Linked DNA regions of Homo sapiens: regions 1, 2, 3, 4, 6 and 7 are each linked to region 5. Evidence: promoter capture Hi-C in 16 types of primary human blood cells and fetal thymus (Javierre and others, 2016). All regions are on one chromosome and are shown on one strand. Each heading gives the region's core, a stretch centred on a gene start or on the middle of the fragment in contact. The rest is flanking DNA. Distances are from core to core; before and after follow the strand shown. Region 1 has its middle 26 kb from the start of APOBEC1. Region 2 holds the start of COPS7A (COP9 signalosome subunit 7A). Region 3 holds the start of PTMS (parathymosin). Region 4 holds the start of ZNF384 (zinc finger protein 384). Region 5 holds the start of RBP5 (retinol binding protein 5). Region 6 has its middle 45 kb from the start of APOBEC1. Region 7 holds the start of ING4 (inhibitor of growth family member 4).

Region 1 (2,700 bases), core at 132-2,631, 510 kb after region 5:
ATAACATGGATATCATGGTGACCTGCATTTGCATATTAAAGGAGTAAGGTAGGAGTGCCAGGTTTTTCACGGGCTATGTGAATGACACGCCTGGTCAAACCAATCTCCTGGGCCCTATGCAAATTAGACACCTCCTCCTCCAGCCTCCTGCTATAACAAACTACTCTGCCACACACGGGGTTTCTCTCTGGGAGCCCCCCTCCCTCTGTCCCTGTACTGGGAAGCTTCTTCCTTCTTTCTTGCTTATTAAACTCTCCACTCCTTAAAACCACTCTACATGTGTCCATGTCGCTTTATCTAAAACGATGTTAGACCAAGGACCCTGCTGTTCTTCCATTCATCAGAGCAGTTATCATTTTGGTTGCATTGACCGGGAATTCATTCATCGGAGTGGTGACTATAGAGCGAGCCCCAACCTCAAATCTCTCCTTCAATTTCAAGGCTCTCTTCTTACTATCCTGTTGCAAAATTTTCCTTCTTTCTCTATCCACGGTCTCTTACTCTCTCTCTGTGAAAAGTGCAGGGAGTTTTACAGTTCAGTGAAACAGGTCTGCTAGGAAAGATGGCAAACGCAGCAGGCAGTAACTCAACAAGCCCGCTCTCTGTGGCTGCGCTGGTGAGCATATAGTATTTCTAAGCCAACAGCGCCACCTAGTGGAAGTAGAAATCCTCTTCAGGGGCCACATTTTTTACGGTAACACTGAACTTCCTTTTGCACCACCAGAAATCAGGCTCTAACCTACTTCTGTGAACCGGAAAGTTCTGCCTTCAGCAATTAGAAGTAATATGTCCTCGACCGGGCATGGTGGCTTACGCCTGTAATCCCAACACTTTGGGAGGCCAAAGCGGGTGGATCACGAGGTCAGGAGTTCGAGACCAGCCTGGCCAATATGGTGAAACCCCGTCTCTACTAAAAACACAAAAATTAGCTGGGCGTGGTGGTGCACACCTGCGGTCCCAGCTGCTCAGGAGGCTGAGGCTATTGAATTGCTTAAAACGGGGAAGCAGAGGTTGCAGTGAGCTGAGATTACGTCACTGCACTCCAGCCTGGGTGACAGTGAGACTCTGTCTCAAAAAGAAGTAATATGTCTGCTGCCACATTTTAGTCTTGATATTGTCCCATAAGCAGGAAAATGGCCATTCTGTTCCTACGCTCTTTTAAGACATCTAATCTGTTTCCTGTTAAAATGGTATAATTAGTAGGGAGATTTTAAGTTCAGAAGTTAACCAGAACCATTTTTCTGAGGGTAAATGGTTTGGCATGGGCCATAATAGCAGGCAGTCTAGCACATTGCCTCTGTTAAAGGAGCCTTGACCAAAAACAACACAGTCTCTCCAAAGATCAATTTTTCAGGGAGCCAGGTAGATCACATAGGCTTAGGAAGTCAAAGGGAATCACACAAGGCAGATAAGCTAAGGTTGCGTGGGTAAAGTGTGGTTAATCCCATTGAGAGGTGACAGCGTGCTAGCAGTCCTCACAGCTCTCGCTCGCTCTCGGCGCCTCCTCTGCCTGGGCTCCCACTTTGGCGGCACTTGAGGAGCCCTTCAGCCCACCGCTGCACTGTGGGAGCCCCTTTCTGGGCTGGCGAAGGCCGCAGCCCGCTCCCTCAGCTTGCAGGGAGGTGTGGAGGGAGACGCGCGAGCGGGAACCGGGGCTGCGCGCGGCGCTTGCGGGCCAGCTGGAGTTCCGGGGGGGCGTGGGCTTGGCGGCCCCGCACTCGGAGCAGCCGGCCGGCCCTGCCGGCCCGGGGCAGTGAGGGGCTTAGCACCCGGGCCAGCGGCTGCGGAGGGTGTACTGGGTCCCCCAGCAGTGCCAGCCCACCGGCGCTGCGCTCGATTTCTCACCGGGCCTTAGCTGCCTTCCCGCGGGGCAGGCCTTGGGACTGCAGCCCGCCATGCCTGAGCCTTCCCCCGCCTCCGTGGGTTCCTGTGCAGCCGGAGCCTCCCCGACGAGCGCCGCCCCCTGCTCCACGGCGCCCAGTCCCATCGACCGCCCAAGGGCTGAGGAGTGCAAGCGCATGGCGTGGGACTGCAGCGCCGGTGCGGGATCCACTGGGTGAAGCCAGCTGGGCTCCTGAGTCTGGTGAGGACGTGGAGAATTTATGTTTAGCTCAGGGATTGCAAATACACCAATGGACACTCTGTATCTAGCTCAAGGTTTGTAAACACACCAATCAGCACCCTGTGTCTAGCTCAGGGTTGTGAGCGCGCCAATCGACACTCTGTATCTAGCTGCTCTGGTGGGGCCTTGGAGAACCTTTGTGTGGATACTCTGTATCTAACTAATCTGATGGGGAGGAGGAGAACCTTTGTACCTAGCTCAGGGATTGTAAACGCACCAATCAGCGCCCTGTCAAAACAGACCACTCGCCTCTACCAATCAGCAGGATGTGGTTGGGGGGGGGCCAGATAAGAGAATAAAAGCAGGCTGCCCGAGTTGGTAGTAGTAACCCGCTCGGGTGTCTCTCTGCCTTGGTGGGGCTTTGTTCTTTCGCTCTTGGGGTCCATACTACTTTTGTGAATTACAGCACTCACCACGAAAGCTTGCGAGACCACGAGCCTACCGGGAGGAACGAACAACTCCCGACGCGCTGCCTTAAGAGCTGTAACAGTGACCGCAAAGGTCTGCAGCTTTACTCCTGAGCCCGCCAGACCATGAACCCACCAGAAAGAAAAAACTGAACACACCTGCACATCAAA
Region 2 (2,700 bases), core at 133-2,632, 400 kb before region 5:
GCCACTGCACTCCAGCCTGGGCGACAGAGCGAGACTCCGTCTCAAATTAAAAAAAAAAAAAAAAGATAAGCTTGGGGCGGGGAGGGGTGGATGCAAAATAATAATAATAATGTTTGGACTCATTAATTCCTTGCTTCCTTCAAACTCTGAATATTTTATTATGCCTTTGATTCCTTCTACTCACTTTTGTTTCACCTTTTCCATTCATTTCTTCTTCTCCTCTTCCTCCTTTCTCTTTCCTTTCTGTGTTTCTGCTTATTTTCTATCACAAACCAAAATATGCGGACCATAAACTGCATCTGCAGTTCCTTTAGCCCTAACAGACTACGAGTCCTATTTCTCTTTATCTTTCTCTTTTTCACTTTCTTGTCTTTCCATTACTTACAAGTTTCTTAATTTTCCTGAGTTCAGTTTTTCCATCTGGAAAGTGGAGATAACAATTACTAGATCGTTGTATCAGATGAATTAAGTAATGCTCATGGCTTAACACAAAGGCCAAGATGTCATTAACTTTACCCTCACTTGACCTTCTGCAAGCCTGTTGTGAAATATAAAACACTATAGAAATGTTAGTTGTTTTTGTTTTTATTAAAGTATCATATTGAAGTAGAAAGATGGTTTTGAGTTTGAAAAGCTCCAGATAAATCCTTGGATTTTTATGAGCCTCAATTTCCTTTTCTGTAAAATGAGAACCACATAGGGTTTTTTCCTCCCCAAGAAATTAAGAGTCCATGTACTGAAAGCATCATTCTACAAGTATTAATACATATGTAGTAATCATGGTAGAGGGTGTCCTGAAGTCACAGGGGAATATTTGTGAGGATTCAACGGAATAAAATTTTAAAAGATGTCTGACCAATAGTAAGCACTCAATACATGTTAGCTTTATTCTCTCTTTTATTTTTCTCGCTTCTTTTCTCCTGCTCTTCAAAAAAGTGAGTGGTTGAACCACCTAGGTGATCTCTGCTGCTAAACTTCTATTATTGATTTTTGTTTGCTTCCTCTCTGCCCCTTGTTTCCTCATCCCGTTTTTTTCCCTCTTCTTCACTCCTTCCGTTACAGCTTTTCTCTTGCCTCAGGTACCCAGTGCAGTCCTGATCTCCAGCTCTCCAGCGGCTTAGAACAGACACAGAATGGGCCGGGACCAGGGACCCACCAGAGACGTCTGTAGTTAATAGCTGGCGCTCTTCCACTAATAAAGTTTTATTGAAATAAAGCATTTAAAAAGGCGCCCGTCATTCTTCCCCCAGCGACCAATCGAAGAGTAGAATGCCTGCGTCCCTCACTGGAGCTTCAGCGGTCGGAACGCGGGGGTGGGGCATGTCCTGCCGAAATTTGCGTCCTTAGAGCGGAAGTACGGCCGGAAGCCCGCCATAGAGTTTAGTGGCCAGAGCGACTCTTCAGGGAGGTGGCAGGAAAGGCTTGGAACAGCTGCCGGAGGTGACGGAGCGGCGGCCCCGCCCGGTGCGCTGGAGGTCGAAGCTTCCAGGTAGCGGCCCGCAGAGCCTGACCCAGGGTACGACGAAGCAGTCGGCGGGAGCCCACGGTCGCTGGGCGGTGTCTTTAAGGGAGGGGGCGGAGCCACGTGTAAGCTTCAATGGGGGTGAGGTCACGTGGTTGTGGGCGCGTGCGGGGCAGCAATGGAGAGCTGAGGGAGCGTCGTCAGGGTGGACACCATGCGACACCCATTTCTCCTTTGCATCCTGTGTCTTGGGGTTCAATGGGGTGCACGTGATGGGGCTTGGGGTTAGGCCCAGGGGAGGGGGTGGGTGTGGCAGCCTTGCGAAGTGGCTGACTTTAGGATTCCTAGATCAGAATTTTAGACCGCTCCATGTCTGATTCCTCACCGCAGAACCGACTTAGTGCCTTTACAATCCAGTCCCTCAGCCTTGTGCTTCCCATCCGACCAGCCATCGGGGACCTCTAGCTTCACATCCTCTTTCCTTGCAGCTCTGGACATCCTGAGCCCAAGTCCCCCACACTCAGTGCAGTGATGAGTGCGGAAGTGAAGGTGACAGGGCAGAACCAGGAGCAATTTCTGCTCCTAGCCAAGTCGGCCAAGGGGGCAGCGCTGGCCACACTCATCCATCAGGTGCTGGAGGCCCCTGGTGTCTACGTGTTTGGAGAACTGCTGGACATGCCCAATGTTAGAGAGGTGGGTTGCTGGCTTGAATAGCCCTCAGAGAAGCGTGGGCAAAGGTTTGAATTTGAGAATGGGTGGGCAGGGCTCATTTTGTGATCCAATAACCATTCAGTTGAACAAGAAAACAGTGATAATTAAATGCCAACTTGCAGAAGTAACCAGTGAACAAGCAAACCAGCTCTCCTTTGGAGATAAGGGATCTGTAAAGCCCACTATTTTTCATTTTAAGCAAAAGAGCATCCTATTCAGAATAGGAAACCTGATTTCCAGCCGGTCTCCACCAGTGTAGTAGCTGTTAATTCTCATGTCACCTTGATCAGGTCACTTTTGTTTTAGGGCTTCAGCTTTCTCTTTTTTTTTTTTTTTTTGAGACGGAGTCTTGCTCTGTCACCCAGGCTGGAGTGCAGTGGCGTGATCTCAGCTGAGTGCAAGCTCTGCCTCCTGGGTTCACGCCATTCTCCTGCCTCAGCCTCCTCAGTAGCTGGGACTACAGGCGCCCGCCACCATGCCCGGCTAACTTTTTTGTATTTTTAGTAGAGATGGGATTTCACTGTGTT
Region 3 (2,700 bases), core at 1-2,500, 360 kb before region 5:
AGCCTTCCACTCTGTCCACCTTCCTGACCTTTAATACACAACCCAGCCCCTGTTCCCTTCTGAAATCCCAAGCTTTTCAAAATGACTCAAAGATACCGAGATTGAGGGCGAGGAGCTGAGGATGTGTGGAATAGGGTGGGGCTGGAACTCCAGACCTGGACCTGTATTATATTTGCAAAGGAGGCAAATATAACCCAGAAAGGCTAGGGAAGATGGCAGCAGAGGAATGAGAAAAGCTGAAGGATGGAAAATGTAAAAAATGAGGACAGAAAGAGGAGTTGAGGAAAGCCAGCCAAGAATAGAGGGCCAGGTGCCTGACTCAGATAAGACAAGAGCAGGGTTGTCTGGGAAAGATAGGGAAAGAGACCAGAGGTGGAAGGGCAGAAGAGAGTCAGTGAGGAGTGGAGAAGAGGTGAGAGAAGAATGGGAGCGATTCGAGTTATAATTGGTTGTGAAGGAGGGGTCTAGGTACAGATGACTGAGGACGGATGAAGAGAAATAGAAGGACCAGGCGAATAAAAGTGAGGTGAGACGGGCGAATAAGAGAGGTAGAAGATGGAAGAGAGCTGGAAGACAGCAAAGGAGACCAGGGGGCCTGACTCCCCCCGGCTCACAGCACGGGGCCAGGAAGGGAGGCACCCGGCAAGGGTCACAAGTGTCAATCTGGCGGGACAGAAGGCTGGGCCGCCCTTTCTGCCCTCCCATCCCTCCTCAAGGCCATCCAGAGAATGTGGATGGAGGATGAGAGGGGGAAATCCGGCGTGGTGTGGAAGGAGCGCCCGAACCCTCTTCCTCTTCTTTAAGCTTTTGGTTTCTCAAATACCTGCCCTATCTTCCCATCTGCTCCCCTCACCCCACCCCTTGGCAAAATCCCAGGGCTTTTTTTGGGGTCAGTAGGATTCTGGCCACCTCTCCAGTCCGCCCCCAAAAGCCAGACTCCACATTCGCAGGCAGTAGGTTGGGATTTGGAAAGGTGCCTCCCCGCAGGAACCCCACCCCTTCCCACCTCCTCGCCCCACTCTTTCTCCGCGGCCGTCAGTCTCTCCATTTCCCCCTCCTGGTCTCGTCCTCCCTCCCGACTCCCTAGCTCTCCCTCCCCTCGCTTTCATCCTCCTATCCCCACCTCTCCAACCTCCTCTTTCATCCCCCTCCCCTCTCCTCTCCTCCCCGCTCCCGCCTGCCCCACCCCTGGGAAGCCCCTCCCGTCGGGCAGCGCCGCCTTATAAGCGGGTTCCCTTCCCGGGGGCGGCAGCGGCTGGTCGGCGGCAGCTCTGCTGGTGCGGGGGCGGCGAGCCCGGGATCGAGCTACCGCGGCCGAGCGCGCCGGCCACCGCCTGCACCGCCCTTCCGCCCGCCCTCCGGACGGCCGCAGCCCTGCGGGTCTCCGCTCCAGACCCACCCCCGCCCCACCCCGCGCGCCTCTGCCGCCTCTTCCAGAGACCCAGCTTGCCGAGCGGCCGCCGCTGCCGCTGTCGCCGCCGCCGCCGCCACCGCGCCAGGTTCCGGCCGCGGCCACCCTCCGCCGTCCAGGGCCCCTCCGTCTCGGCCCCGGGACCCCGGCTCCCCGCCAGCCCCGGCCCCGGCCCCGGCACCATGTCGGAGAAAAGCGTGGAGGCAGCGGCCGAGTTGAGCGCCAAGGTACGGGCGGGGGCGGCGGCGGCCCGGACCTCGCGCAGCCCTGGGGCCCGGCGCGGTCCTTCGCCCCAGGCCGCCCCCGACGGCCCCGCGCGGCCCTTGCGCCCGGGTCCTGGCGGACCCCACTGCGCCCTCCCACCGCTCCCCGGCCCGGAGCTCCTTTCCCGGCTCCGCGCGGCTAGCGCCAGCGCCCTCTAGCTGCCCTGCGCGCACCACGGCGCCCGGCCTCGCCGCTCCGGTCGCGCCGTCCCCCGCAGCCGTCCCCACCCCTCTTCGGCCCCACCTCGCTGACCGGATCCCGTCCGGCTTCCCGTCCGAACGCCCCGAGTCTCACTTTGCCGCGCCCCCTCCCTGCGCCCCGCTGCCGCGTCTTTGCTTGCAACCTGACCTCACCTTTCCTCGCTAAGCGGTTTGAGATCCTCAAGTGTAAACAGGACTCTCCCTGGAGGCTGCTCCTCCGGGCCCCTCCCCGCGGCCCGACCGTCGCTCGCTTCTCTCCCCGGACGGCGGCCGCCTCTGTTTTCTCGTTCCCTCCCCTCAGCTGGCTTTCAGCTTTCTTTTCTCTTCATCGTCCCCTTCCCGCATACACACTGAAAGAATCTCGAATTCCTAAAAATTAGAAGCGGGGCAGGACTAGCCTTCGAAAAAGCCGAGGCTGGGCATTGCATGGCATTGCGTCGAGCTGTCCTCGCCCTCATCAGCTCCCTTCCCCGGCCCCATCCGTTCGCCCTTGCCTCTCTTCCAGCCTTCCTCTAATTTCCCCAGGGAACCTGCGGAGTGTCGCTTTGGGAAATTAACGCGGCCGGGGTTTGGGGGCTGGGAGCCCTATCTTGTGTGTGTATGTGTATGGCGGGGGGGGGGGGCGCGGTGGTTGCTGAGGGGCCGTCACACAGGTCTCCCGGAGGCCCGCGGAGTGAAACGGGGGGAGCCAATGGGATTAACGGCGGTGGGAGAGGGGCTGTGTGCGATCTGCCAAGGTGCGCCCGTGTGGCCCTCCGGCGGGCTGTGCGGTGGCATGTGACTTCACTGAGTAGGTGTCTTTGTATGTCTGAAATCCAGCGAGTG
Region 4 (2,700 bases), core at 128-2,627, 440 kb before region 5:
CCTCAAGAGATAATAGAAAAAAACTGATTTCTCTCCACAACAATCTCAGCATTACAATTGCTATTACTTTAAGTATTCTATCACATTGTGAAACACACACACGCCCCATTTGGTTGTGACCCCTTCTCCCCCAAAACCAGAAAAGCCATTAACCCAAAAATCATCTTACCCTCTCTCTCTCTTCCTCCTGCCGTCTTATTCCTTCTCCTTTCCAGGGCTCCTGAACTTTCTGTAAACAAATTGTCTAGGTTACAGGGGCCAGGCAGGGTGCAGCCACCAGAGAACTGTGGAGAACCTCAGGAATTATTTGTCAGCAGTCAGTCTGGAAGGCAGGCAGACCCCCCAGCCAGCAATCCAAAGACGGGTGGATATAATAACAGCAGTCTAGTGCTACCCTCTACGTGGATACAAGAGAAATAAATCCAATTCCCAGAAACTAAGACGAATTCTATCACCAGCGTTTGGGTTTCACTCCTAGGCTCAGAGACTGGTCCTTGTTCGTTCCCAGGCCACAGGTAACCAGGGGTCAGAGAACATTAGAGATGGAGGAGGAGGAGGGTCTGTGCCCCTGAGGAGTGGCTTCAGAAGGCAAAGCTGAGGGCTGGGGGATGCACAAGACCTTGTGGCAGGCACAGTGCCAGTTCAGGCCCAGCCACTTCCTCTAGCCTTCCCCCCACTTCTTCGAGGACTTCGCCCCCTGCCTACCCGAGGCCTTGTGCCAAGAAGTACCTCCCTCAGCCTGCACCGTGGTCTATCTACTGGAGACCCCAGCTGTCCCCTCAAAACCTTCGCTCCCCTGAGACAGTTCCTGGGAGCCTTCTCCTGATGTCGTCCCCTACCCCTTTCTCAAAGACCCTTCCTTGGGACGTCCCTCCTTCCCCTCCAGGGAGCTGAACTCTGCCACCCACCAGACAGGCACCCGCCCCCTAAACCCCCCCATTCCTTCCCATCGCCCGCTCCTCCACAACCACTTCCGGTTCCGGGACGGACACACACACAGTCACATCGTGGACCCCCCCTTCCCCGCCTGCCCAAGGAAAAGGGGAGGGGGGAGGAGCAAGCAGCTTGGCGCGCGCCGGCTGTAGCGGCGCGAGACTCACCGGGCGGCGACGGCTGCGGCGGCGCCAGAGCCTGAGCCAGGGCGCGGGAGGGGCGGCGTTTGCTGGGAAAGGAGGGAGCCGAGGAGGGTGGGAGGACCAGGAAGGGGCGAGGGAGGGGAAAAAGCGCAAGGCGCAGCGCGCGGGCACGCACTTCTGGAGCGAGACAGACCCACACACTCACACGCACGGAACGCGCGCGAGACACCCGCAGGGCGGGGGCGCGAGGTAGTGGGTGGCCCCCCCTCCTTGCTGCCCTCCCCTTGCACTCACCCGGAAGTGGTGCTGCAGCTCGTGCTCCCGCGAACCCCAGTTCCTCCACGCCCCCCTCCCTCCCCCCAACAGGCTCAGAGAAGAGCTCTGCGGAGAGAAGGCGGGAGCGCCGGAAACGAAAAGGGGGGAGGGAGGGAAATAGCAATGTAGGGGGGGCGCTAATGGAGAAAGAGGGGCGTGCAGAAGCCGAGTCACTTCCGGGAGTGGCTGGAACACTTCCGGCGCCGCTAGCGCTGCGAGATATTCAGGGCAGAAGTTACGATAACTCGGGGCGGAAATAGCTTCTGCCCAGCGACTGGGAAGAGGGGATGTGACGCTATAGCGGAAGTGAAGGCGGGTTCCGCTAGGGGCAAAAGCTGAAACCGGAGGACTCCGGCCCTGAGCTTCCGGAAGGGACATCTGGGGAAGGTGGGGGGGTGGAAACGCGACAGGTTCATGAATTATCCATCAAGGTAGGAGAGGAGGTGTGGGTTCTTCAGATGCTGGGACCCCGTTTCTCTTCCCTCTGGATGTTGAATAAGCTGATGTAGGAAATTACCATTATTTTTTCTGATACCCCCAAGAATGTCTCAATGCTTTGAATATGCGGGAAAGGACTAGGACGTATCCTTGTTTTTCGGAGGTCCCTACTTAGGTCCAGTTAGAAACTCTCCCAGCCATCAAAATCTGTCTCTCTGACACATCCCTTACTTTACTTTGGTCTTTTCTTGTTGCCCATACCCACATCTCTATCCCCTTACCCTGTTTTACTTAAATATAGCACTTATTACTGCCTGATTTATTGTTTGCTGTCCACCTCTCCCAACTAAAATATTGGCTACAGGACAGCGAGGACTGAATTGTTCGTTGCTGTATCCTCATATCCTGGCAGTTAAGTGGTCTGTAAACTCTTGTTGTATAAATGAACTATAGTTCATTATGAACACCTAAATATGAACCCTTTTAGGAAGCCTTGCCTGATTGCTCCAACCTGTAATGGTCCCTCTGAATTCCCATAGTATTTAATACGTACCTTTTATTGATATTTTAACTATTTCATACATGTGATTCCCCAGCAAGATTGTCAGTTCCTCATGGAAGGAAATACGTTGCTTTGCTGAGCATATAGTAAATGCTGAATATGTTGTTTGAACAAGTGAATGCTGTTACAAGCGTGCACCCCGACCTGGCCAGAATCCCCCTGGGCTCAGCTCTAAGCAGAACTGAGGTCTCTCCTACTAATGGTAAGAGCCTCTTGCTGAGAAAAATAACCTTTTTTTTTTTTTTTTAAAGACAGAGTGTCACCCTGTTGCCCAGGCTGGAGTGCATTGGCGCCATCTTGGCTCACTGC
Region 5 (2,700 bases), core at 193-2,692:
AATCATCTCTAGATTACTTATAATACCTAATGCAATGTACATGCTCTGTAAATAGTTGCTATACTGTATTGTTTTTTATTTGTATCATTTTGTATTGTTATTTTTTATTTTTATTTTTCCCAAATATTTTTCCATTTGCAGTTTGCTGAAGCTGTGGATGCAGAACCCATGAATATGGAGGGCCAACTGTATTTTGTAGGCAGTTGAAAACATTGCCCTGGAGCTCAGGAGATGGCTCTGGCTGGAGAATTCATGCCAAGGGCAGCCTATAGATGGAAGCAGAAGGCATGGGTGTAGATGATTTAGCCTATGGATAGTGGGCAGACAAAAGGGAGAAGACATTAAGAACAAAACTCTGCGGAGAAAACTCCAGTTTAAAGGATTAATAGGAGGACTAGGATCTGCAAAGGAGGCTAAGAAGGAATATGTAAGAAGTAGAAAGAAATGCAGGAGAGTGAAGTTATTGATGCTAAAGTAAAAGGGACTCTGGGTGACCAACAGTGTCACAGGCTGGAGGGTGGGCAAATGTTTGCTCTTCGGTCTGGGTTGGCCTGTTCTTTGCCCTTTGGGCTGGTGATAAGAGGGGGCAGGGAAGAAGTGGGAGAGAGACAGGGAGCACCAGGACCTGTTAGTTCTGGAGACTGGTATCCTGGGGACTGCATTCCCTGCTGTGGTGACCATTCCCCTCCTCCCCGCTGCTCTGGCTGGGGAAGGTCACTTTGTTTTGCCCCATGTTGTTAGGAGTCTCCTGTGATGCCTCCTTCCGGCCACCGCCCAGCCAGGGGAAATGTACCTGGCATTTTCGTCCGTCCACGCTCCTGAGGTCCTCCTCAAACTCCACTCCCACATCAAACTGCACAGTGTAGTTTCGGAAGGTGCTGAGCGTCCTCACCGTCATGTGGTTGCCCTGGTGTTCGATCTCCTTGTCCGGCTTCAGCAGCAGCGCGATCTTCCGCACAGCCAAGCTGATGTCTGTGGGGGCTGCCTGTTAGTAGGGGTGCTGCTAGCCAGCCAGGAGCTCCTCTGCCTGCAGCAGCCCCTCAGGGCTGTGAGTTTCCCTTCTTTGGGTCTGGGACTGTGGATTCACCCCCTCCTACCAATGCCTGGTTAGAAATGGATCCCAGGTCTGGTGCCAGCCGCCTGAGCCTTTCCACAGTGTCCAACCCCGGGCATTCCCTCTTCTCCATGGGACCAAGAAGCAGGAAGGAAGAGGGGAGAAAGGGAGTGACAGGGGTCTGGGAGGGCGAGGCCATTACTTAGGGCTTGCAGGTAGTCCTCCATGTTCTTCTGCGAGACAAAGCGGTAGTAGCCAGTGAGGTTGGGAGGCATTGTGTGGATGAAGGTTTCAGGAGAATGCAGGAGACAGGGTGAGGAAGGAGGGGGTGTTGTCTGGCAGGTGAGGCTGAGAGATTCCAGCCAGCTCCACACACAGAGACAGGATGTGTAATGGCCGGGTTACCAGGGCTTTTTATAAGGCTGGGGCCCTGTTGCAATAAGAGTCCCTACCAGACTTCTTCCCTCCCCGCATGGTGAGTTTGGGGGTGGTGTCTCCAGCCTGAAGGAGGGGCAGGGATTTGGCAAAGTTGCGCCTGACCTTGGCTTTTCCTGAGGAAGGAACCTGGAGCAGGATCCTTCCTGAGGAAGGAACCTGGAGCAGGATCTGGGGCTGTCAGTCATCCAAAACTCAGCCATCCAAAGGTCAGTGTTGGCCTCCACCTCATTTCTGGCAGGCTTGGGAACCGTCCCAGGGCCTGAGGGGCAGTCTTTCCTGGGAGACACCTGAGGCTGGTCTGGCTGTGTGAGGTGGAGATGAGTTCCAACAATATCCTGAGATCCTGGGACTGAGTGATGTTGGAAGATGTGAGGGGAGGGGGTGAGGATGGCCAGCTGCCACCATGAAGAGCACCCTGTAGGCCTGGCTCTCAGAGCTCCCTCAGGTAGTGTGCTCAACTGGGACCCCAAAGTGGCATTCCAGACTCTTGGTCCTAAAGAGCCATTAGGAGGGAGGTGGAGCCCGAGGGGTGCTGAGTTCAAAGTCCGGAACAGACAGCCTGAGAGGAGTTTGTTGGCTATTCTGGAGAATTTTATTCTTTTTGGCTTGGGACCCAGGGGGTTTTCTCTCCCTCTGAGTCATCGATGAGACCGTAACCCCCAGTCCCCAGCCCTAGGACAGCCCATGCTTTCCAGATGTATTTCTGTGAAGGTGGGGTGGAGGCGCCTAAATAATATTGTGCCCCGCCCCCAGCTGCCCAATTCTCTCTCGAACCTGCCATCGTCCCGGGCTTCAGAATCCACTGGGCTTGGTTCATCATGGTTTAAGGTGAAATTCGGGGCGAAGGAGGCAGGACAGGTAGGCAGGAGGAGGCGGCCGGTCCCGACAGGTGCGTGCGCGAGGGGTGCACGACGTCCTGCCCCTCCTTGGGTCCCAGAGCCTCGATACCGCCCTGCGGACCGCCCTGTGGCTTCCTCGCAGCCCTGGGCTACAAATGCCAGGATTTCTCAGGCTCAGACTGAGGGTTTTACTTCACCCTTCCCAGAGGGCACGCAGCACGGATCTGTGGATGGAAGGGGCTGTGGAAACAGGTTATGGCAGAGTTGGGGGGCGGGGTGACGCGGTGCCACCCCTCCTGGCCGCCCTCAGGTCCCGCTGACGTCTCTCTTCCCCACCCCCTGGCTTCTGGCTTCTTTCTCCCCACGTCC
Region 6 (2,700 bases), core at 123-2,622, 490 kb after region 5:
ATGTTTTTTAGCCAACAGATACAACAGATATCTAAATCTAGAAACTTTTTTCTCCATGACTTCCCCAGGGTAAATAAGTATACAAGGAGTAATGGCAGATGAAAATGTCCTCCTCTAATTTTCTTTTTACTTTCCTAGTAGCATTTTGTCTTGACTACTAAAAGAATATATCTTCTAAATTTTTTTTTCTTTTTTAGTTTTTAATGACTGCCTTCCACAAGGAGCTGCCTCAAATACTGAAAGCTTGGTTTTTCCTCCAACTCTGAGCTTTGTTGATTCCTAGGGCCAGTGATTCCTGAAACGAACCTATTGCAGAGAGGGGCCTATTAAGTTTGATACTTAATCCTAGCATTAAAGTTACATAGGAAATATAGTTAGAGTTATATAAGGAATAATTCCCTATAACTTTTCTCTATCTCCCAAGAAAATAAAACAAGCCATATATAGTAAGTGTTCTCATTTCTCTACGTTAGCTTCACCTGCATCTGTAGTTGAAACAGTCTGGGCCTTTGAAACTTACAATCATTATAAAGATTTACATAATAAATAAGCCAGAGACAACTTTTTTTTACTCTCAGTCTTTAACTTAAAAGGTTGTTATTTAGCTTCACAAGGATATTATAATATAGATATTGATCAATTTTCAAAACGTTTTGATGGTACTAATTCAAGTACATTGTACTTGAAATTTGATTCACAAATTTCTGAGCATTGCCCATAGTATAAACCTGGCTGGGTATATATATTGAAGTTTCTTGATTTAAACGTATGAAAATTGTGTCAGTTTTTAAGCTTAATGAAGGTATGGCTCATGAGTATAATATATCTTCAAATGAGATTAACACACAAATTGACTTTTCTATGGTCATTGACCTTGATTAGTTATGCTTCTCTGGCTTTTGGTCAGCTGTGGAAATTATATAAGGGTTGCAGTTTAGGTCTTCATAGTTTTTGTATTCATAACTTCAGTAATATTGATGGCCTATGTTTTTTAGACTCAAAGAAGGATTTTAATAATTGATAATTTATTAATTTTAATAATATAATAATATTCATCCAATACATTAGTTAGCGGCTAAATATCTTAACCAACTGGCTTTACTCTACTTTTCCCTCCCTGGAAAAAAAAATGCAGAAGTGCCCCCCTACCGCTGCAGAATTGAAGCTGCTCCTTTAACTTTGCAAATTCAGTGTGAAATTTCACCTCAGGACTTGGTGAAAAGAGGTTTAATCTCTGTCTTTAGATTTATAGACTAATGCTCACTCAGCCATTTTTACCTTGCTTCTCCCTATGTTCATTAATCGTTGATTATTCTCAACAAACCACAAAAACACTGACACATTATAATTTGGTGCCTAAGCCAGAATAGTGGGGACTGCCTTCCATCTTCTTTTTGTTTTTTTGTTTTTGTAGCTTGTGGGCTTTTTAAAATTTTTATTGTTATTTGAAGTTCTAGGGTACATGTGCAGGACATGTCCATACCAAATTGGGTCAGCCAGAAGCTATGTATTAGGAGATGATCAAATCTGTAATGTTATCATTGCTGCCTATATATTTGCAATAATTTTTTATGGTTTTACCTATTCTAATCAATGGTTTCAGTAATTTATTAATTCCATTAATAATTGGGGCTCCAGATAAAGTATTCCCAGAAATACAGAATAGGTTTCTGACTTCTGCCCCTATCATTCCTCCTCTTGCAATAGTCTAAGCTGCTGCTAAACAGGGTGACCAGTCTACCCACCTGTTTGGGGCTTTGCCACAGTCTGAGCTGTCAAAGTGTCTGTCAAAATCTTAGGTTTATATGTATTTTGGAGTTGAGGTCAATTACTCACATATGTGGTCTGATGAGGTGTGACATAACACTCTTGCAGGGAGGGGGAATTACATTTTCCTATCACATCAAAATATACGTTACTCAAGTAGCAAACTATGGAAGTGGAATCATTTTAAAGCTTTAAAACAGCACTTTTAGCTGGAAATTTAGCCCAGGCAGGAGCTTCTGTAGATCAAACCATTTTCTCATTACACTTAGCAAATATTTCATCAATGTTAGATGCTACTAATTTTAACAGTTATTAATATTCAACCACAAACTATATCCAACATCAAAAATTGATATTTATTTGATCTGTATTAATTACAGCTGTGCTCTTGCTACTTTCTCTTCTAGTTTTAGCGCTGGCATTACTACACCTGTGCTATTCACAAACATAACCTTAATACTACTATGTTTGATCCCACAAAAAGAGGACACTTAATTTTATATCAATGTTTTTTTCTAATTTTTTCTCTTACAGAAGTTTATATTCTTATTTTATTCAGATTTAGAAGAGTTTCACATGTTGTAACATATTCAGGAAAAAAGAATTATTCAGTTACATAGGAATAGTCTAAAACATAATATCTATTGGTTCCCTAAGATTCACTGTATACACCTGATATGGCTTATACACGATTGAAAAGGCAAGCCATAGGCTGGGAGAAAATAATTGCACATCAAATATTTAATAATAAGTTTGTATCTAGAATACATAAAGAACTCTCATAACTCAATTTTAAAGAGTAAACAATAGGCAAAAAGATTTGAACAGACACTTCCCCAGGGAAGATAGTCACATGGAAAATAATCACCTGAAATTAACACCATTAGTCATTAGAGAAATGCAAATTAAAACCACAATCAAATACCAATACAC
Region 7 (2,700 bases), core at 99-2,598, 470 kb before region 5:
CCTTCTCTCTCAACCACTCAGTCATTCAGTCAGTCCTTTCATATTTAACTCCTAAATACTTCTGTAACTCCCTAAAATCAGGTTCTTATCTCTGTCCTGGAATGTTATCACTAATTGATCTCTGTTATCAACAATATCATGCTCCAATTTACCATATATTAGTCATTTTCCTCTATAAAAATCATACTCTACTTTAAAATGCAAACTTCTTCGTTTGGCTTAAAAGACCTTGTCCAATCTAGCCTCAGCCTCTTTCTCCAGTCTCCTTTCTCAATTTCTTACCTTAGATTCATAAATATCAAATACGCTGACCTCTGAGTCATAAATATCAAACACCCTTGACCTTGCCACAAACCCATCACAGTACCTTTGCGGATGCTTTCCCCAACCTGGAATTCCTTTTTTCTCTCCTCACTGGCAAATAACCTTCAAGACCCTATTCAAACATCACCTCCGCTGTAAAGCTTTTCCTACATCCCCAGGTAATTACCCCCCTTTTCTCCAGGGTTGCCTACCAAGTGTCCTTTTTAATGTATTTCCATTATCTCACTTGTCACAGTGTTTTATAATTATTTGCAGAATCTGTTTCCTACTAGATCGTGAGCTTCTTGAGGGCAGGAGCCTTGTCTTACTCATTTTTCTATCCCTAGTGCCTGCCATTATGTCTGACCCATAGCAGGACCTCAATAAATATTTGTTGAATAAATGACTCCGGGCCCTAAAACAAATGTAAGCGCACAGAGCAATAGGCTTTCTGCAGGGGTGGTTTACATAAATCGCATAAACACCAGATTTTCATTTGATGGGAATTAGATCTTTACTCCATGAAGAGAAGCGTTCTAGTTCATCATCTGACAGTGGTCACTCATCACCACCACTCTCAACCCCATGAGAAGCCACTTTTGAGGAAGAATGGAGTGGAGGAGAGGTCTTTACCGCTTCTCCAAATGGCAGTGTGTGATAACGATTCTGAACGACTATGGGGAAAAAAATCTACCGAGGCTGGAGACCCTGGAGAATGGGGGCAGCAACTATCTTCCTGGCCATGCACACTAGCCCTTCAAGACACGTCTCTAACCCCCACACCGCACCCCTCCCTCGTCTACACCCATCAGCGGGGCCTCGATCCTGCTGCCCCGCCCCCTCTTTCTCCGCACCCTCCAATATTTCCTGCCACAGAACCGCTTCATAATTGTGACCTTCTCGTCACTGGAACTTAAGGGCTACAGATCCTCTCATCCCTGATCCCCGCACCACTCTGCAGCCCCGACCCCCACCTCCAGCCTGCTCTTACTGTCCAGATAATGTTCCAAATACATCCCCGCAGCCATCTCGAAGCAAAACAAAGCAACTTCCGATCCGCCCCGGAAGTGACTGTAACGCGACAGGGGCCGAAGCCATTTTGCGGCTAAAGCCTTTCCGCCCTTAAAAGGAGAACTTCCGCCCTTAAAAGGAGAACTTCCGCCCTTAAAGGAGAACTTCCGCCCTTACTATATTACCGCCGGTACACATCCGCCCGACACTGAAACTTTTCCTTTTGCATGGTAGCCACGACCGCCCACAGTGAGGCGGCTGTAGCCCGCTTCCGCCCTTACAGACACCCCAGGACGCGACCGAGACAGGTATGACGTCACTGGAGGTCGCCATTTTGCATTCTCTAGCAAACTTTTTTCCCTCCAAAACGGGAATGTATGGTAATCCGTGCAGGGGTAACTGTTCACTTTAGGCTCATATTGCGTAAACATACCTTCTCAGCAACTGGAAGATCCAACTTTTTTTCCCTCTTTTGCAGAATGACTTTTTTCAAGCCAGTTAGTTTCTTAAGGAAGTTGGGGAAGAGTATCAGGCCTTGAGACATTTAAACCGTCTGAATTTCTATTCACTCACACAAACACCATCTCCCCCAGCATTATTTTTTTAACTTGAGAAAGATGATCACCTTTCTACTTATAAATACAAAGAATGACTCATAATAAAGCTATAATTCTGCACATCTTTTGTCAGAGCTCCTGTACGTTACACTAGAATACACTTTCACATATAAAATATTACTTCCTGCCTTGCCCTCTTGCTTTTTTTTTTTTTTTTTTGAGACAGAATTTTCACTCTTATTGCCCAGGCTGGAGTGCAATGGCGTGATCATGGCTCACCGCAACCTCCACCTCCCGGGTTCAAGTGATTCTTCTGTCTCAGCCTCCCGTGTAGCTGGGATTACAGGTATGCACCATCACGCCAGACTAATTTTGTATTTTTAGTAGAGATGGGGTTTCTCCATGTCGGTGAGGCTGGTCTCGAACTTCCGACCTCAGGTGATCTGCCCACCTCAGCCTCTCAAAGTGCTGGGATTACAGGTGCGAACCACTGTGCCTGGCCCCTCTTGCTACTCTCTAAGGGGGAAATCTCGTGTTTTTGTTTTCCTTTTGTTTATATGTGATGTTAGCATCATAATTCTGAAGGGATTGAGGGATGCAGCAGTATCACTACTGGGCTAGTTGGCTAGTTAGTTGCTAGCCATCACTCTAGTCAGCTATGGTAGAGTGATTTCTATGGTTTTCATCAGAATGGGAAGCAGTCAAGGGTATGAGAGGCTGCCAACACACTAGGCTGTCAACACACTGCCAACACAAAGGCCATAACCTAATAGTGGTGTTAGTAAGATAGTATTTTAGAGATAGCTGCCACCCCTCACACTTTTCGTAC

The links. The method cuts DNA at HindIII sites, captures the fragments that hold promoters and counts their contacts. A CHiCAGO score of 5 or more calls a contact.
Region 1: a fragment that was not itself captured here is called in contact with the fragment with the promoter of RBP5 in region 5 in 11 of 17 cell types (fetal thymus, non-activated CD4 T cells, naive CD8 T cells and 8 more); the score reaches 9.4 in fetal thymus.
Region 2: a contact is called between the fragment with the promoter of COPS7A here and the fragment with the promoter of RBP5 in region 5, in 6 of 17 cell types (naive CD4 T cells, total CD4 T cells, activated CD4 T cells and 3 more). The highest score is 7.3, in naive CD4 T cells.
Region 3: a contact is called between the fragment with the promoter of PTMS here and the fragment with the promoter of RBP5 in region 5, in 1 of 17 cell types (activated CD4 T cells). The highest score is 5.1, in activated CD4 T cells.
Region 4: the fragment with the promoter of ZNF384 here is called in contact with the fragment with the promoter of RBP5 in region 5 in 1 of 17 cell types (activated CD4 T cells); the score reaches 5.5 in activated CD4 T cells.
Region 6: a contact is called between a fragment that was not itself captured here and the fragment with the promoter of RBP5 in region 5, in 1 of 17 cell types (M0 macrophages). The highest score is 5.0, in M0 macrophages.
Region 7: a contact is called between the fragment with the promoter of ING4 here and the fragment with the promoter of RBP5 in region 5, in 4 of 17 cell types (non-activated CD4 T cells, naive B cells, total B cells and 1 more). The highest score is 6.8, in non-activated CD4 T cells.

What each region holds. Positions count from the first base shown.
Region 1 is chr12:7,638,210-7,640,909 of GRCh38, forward strand. No RefSeq gene overlaps it. Among named protein-coding and RNA genes, the nearest start is that of APOBEC1, 26 kb to the right of the region's middle. RefSeq lists an enhancer at 1-171 and silencers at 613-742, 1,824-1,923. The HindIII fragment of the contact is 2,319 bases long and covers 223-2,541 here.
Region 2 is chr12:6,722,664-6,725,363 of GRCh38, forward strand. It overlaps COPS7A (COP9 signalosome subunit 7A), which reads left to right and starts at 1,383. Exons shown (of 8, transcript NM_001164094.2): 1 at 1,383-1,516; 2 at 1,951-2,155. The coding sequence starts at 1,994. RefSeq lists enhancers at 1,308-1,517, 1,548-1,687, 1,818-2,037. The HindIII fragment of the contact is 1,412 bases long and covers 69-1,480 here.
Region 3 is chr12:6,765,113-6,767,812 of GRCh38, forward strand. It overlaps PTMS (parathymosin), which reads left to right and starts at 1,251. Exons shown (of 5, transcript NM_002824.6): 1 at 1,251-1,638. The coding sequence starts at 1,594. RefSeq lists silencers at 1,116-1,445, 1,556-2,055. The HindIII fragment of the contact is 8,838 bases long and covers 803-2,700 here.
Region 4 is chr12:6,687,998-6,690,697 of GRCh38, forward strand. ZNF384 (zinc finger protein 384) reads right to left here and starts at 1,378. Exons shown (of 12, transcript NM_001385745.1): 1 at 1,101-1,378; 2 at 170-229. RefSeq lists silencers at 1,227-1,336, 1,417-1,496 and an enhancer at 1,230-1,856. The HindIII fragment of the contact is 17,984 bases long and covers 1-2,700 here.
Region 5 is chr12:7,127,447-7,130,146 of GRCh38, forward strand. RBP5 (retinol binding protein 5) reads right to left here and starts at 1,443. Exons shown (of 4, transcript NM_031491.4): 1 at 1,257-1,443; 2 at 794-972. The coding sequence starts at 1,329. It also overlaps a transcript of CLSTN3 not described here. RefSeq lists a silencer at 2,682-2,700. The HindIII fragment of the contact is 14,463 bases long and covers 1-2,700 here.
Region 6 is chr12:7,619,251-7,621,950 of GRCh38, forward strand. No RefSeq gene overlaps it. Among named protein-coding and RNA genes, the nearest start is that of APOBEC1, 45 kb to the right of the region's middle. The HindIII fragment of the contact is 1,164 bases long and covers 791-1,954 here.
Region 7 is chr12:6,661,771-6,664,470 of GRCh38, forward strand. ING4 (inhibitor of growth family member 4) reads right to left here and starts at 1,349. Exons shown (of 8, transcript NM_016162.4): 1 at 1,295-1,349. The coding sequence starts at 1,331. RefSeq lists an enhancer at 1,320-1,379. The HindIII fragment of the contact is 5,227 bases long and covers 463-2,700 here.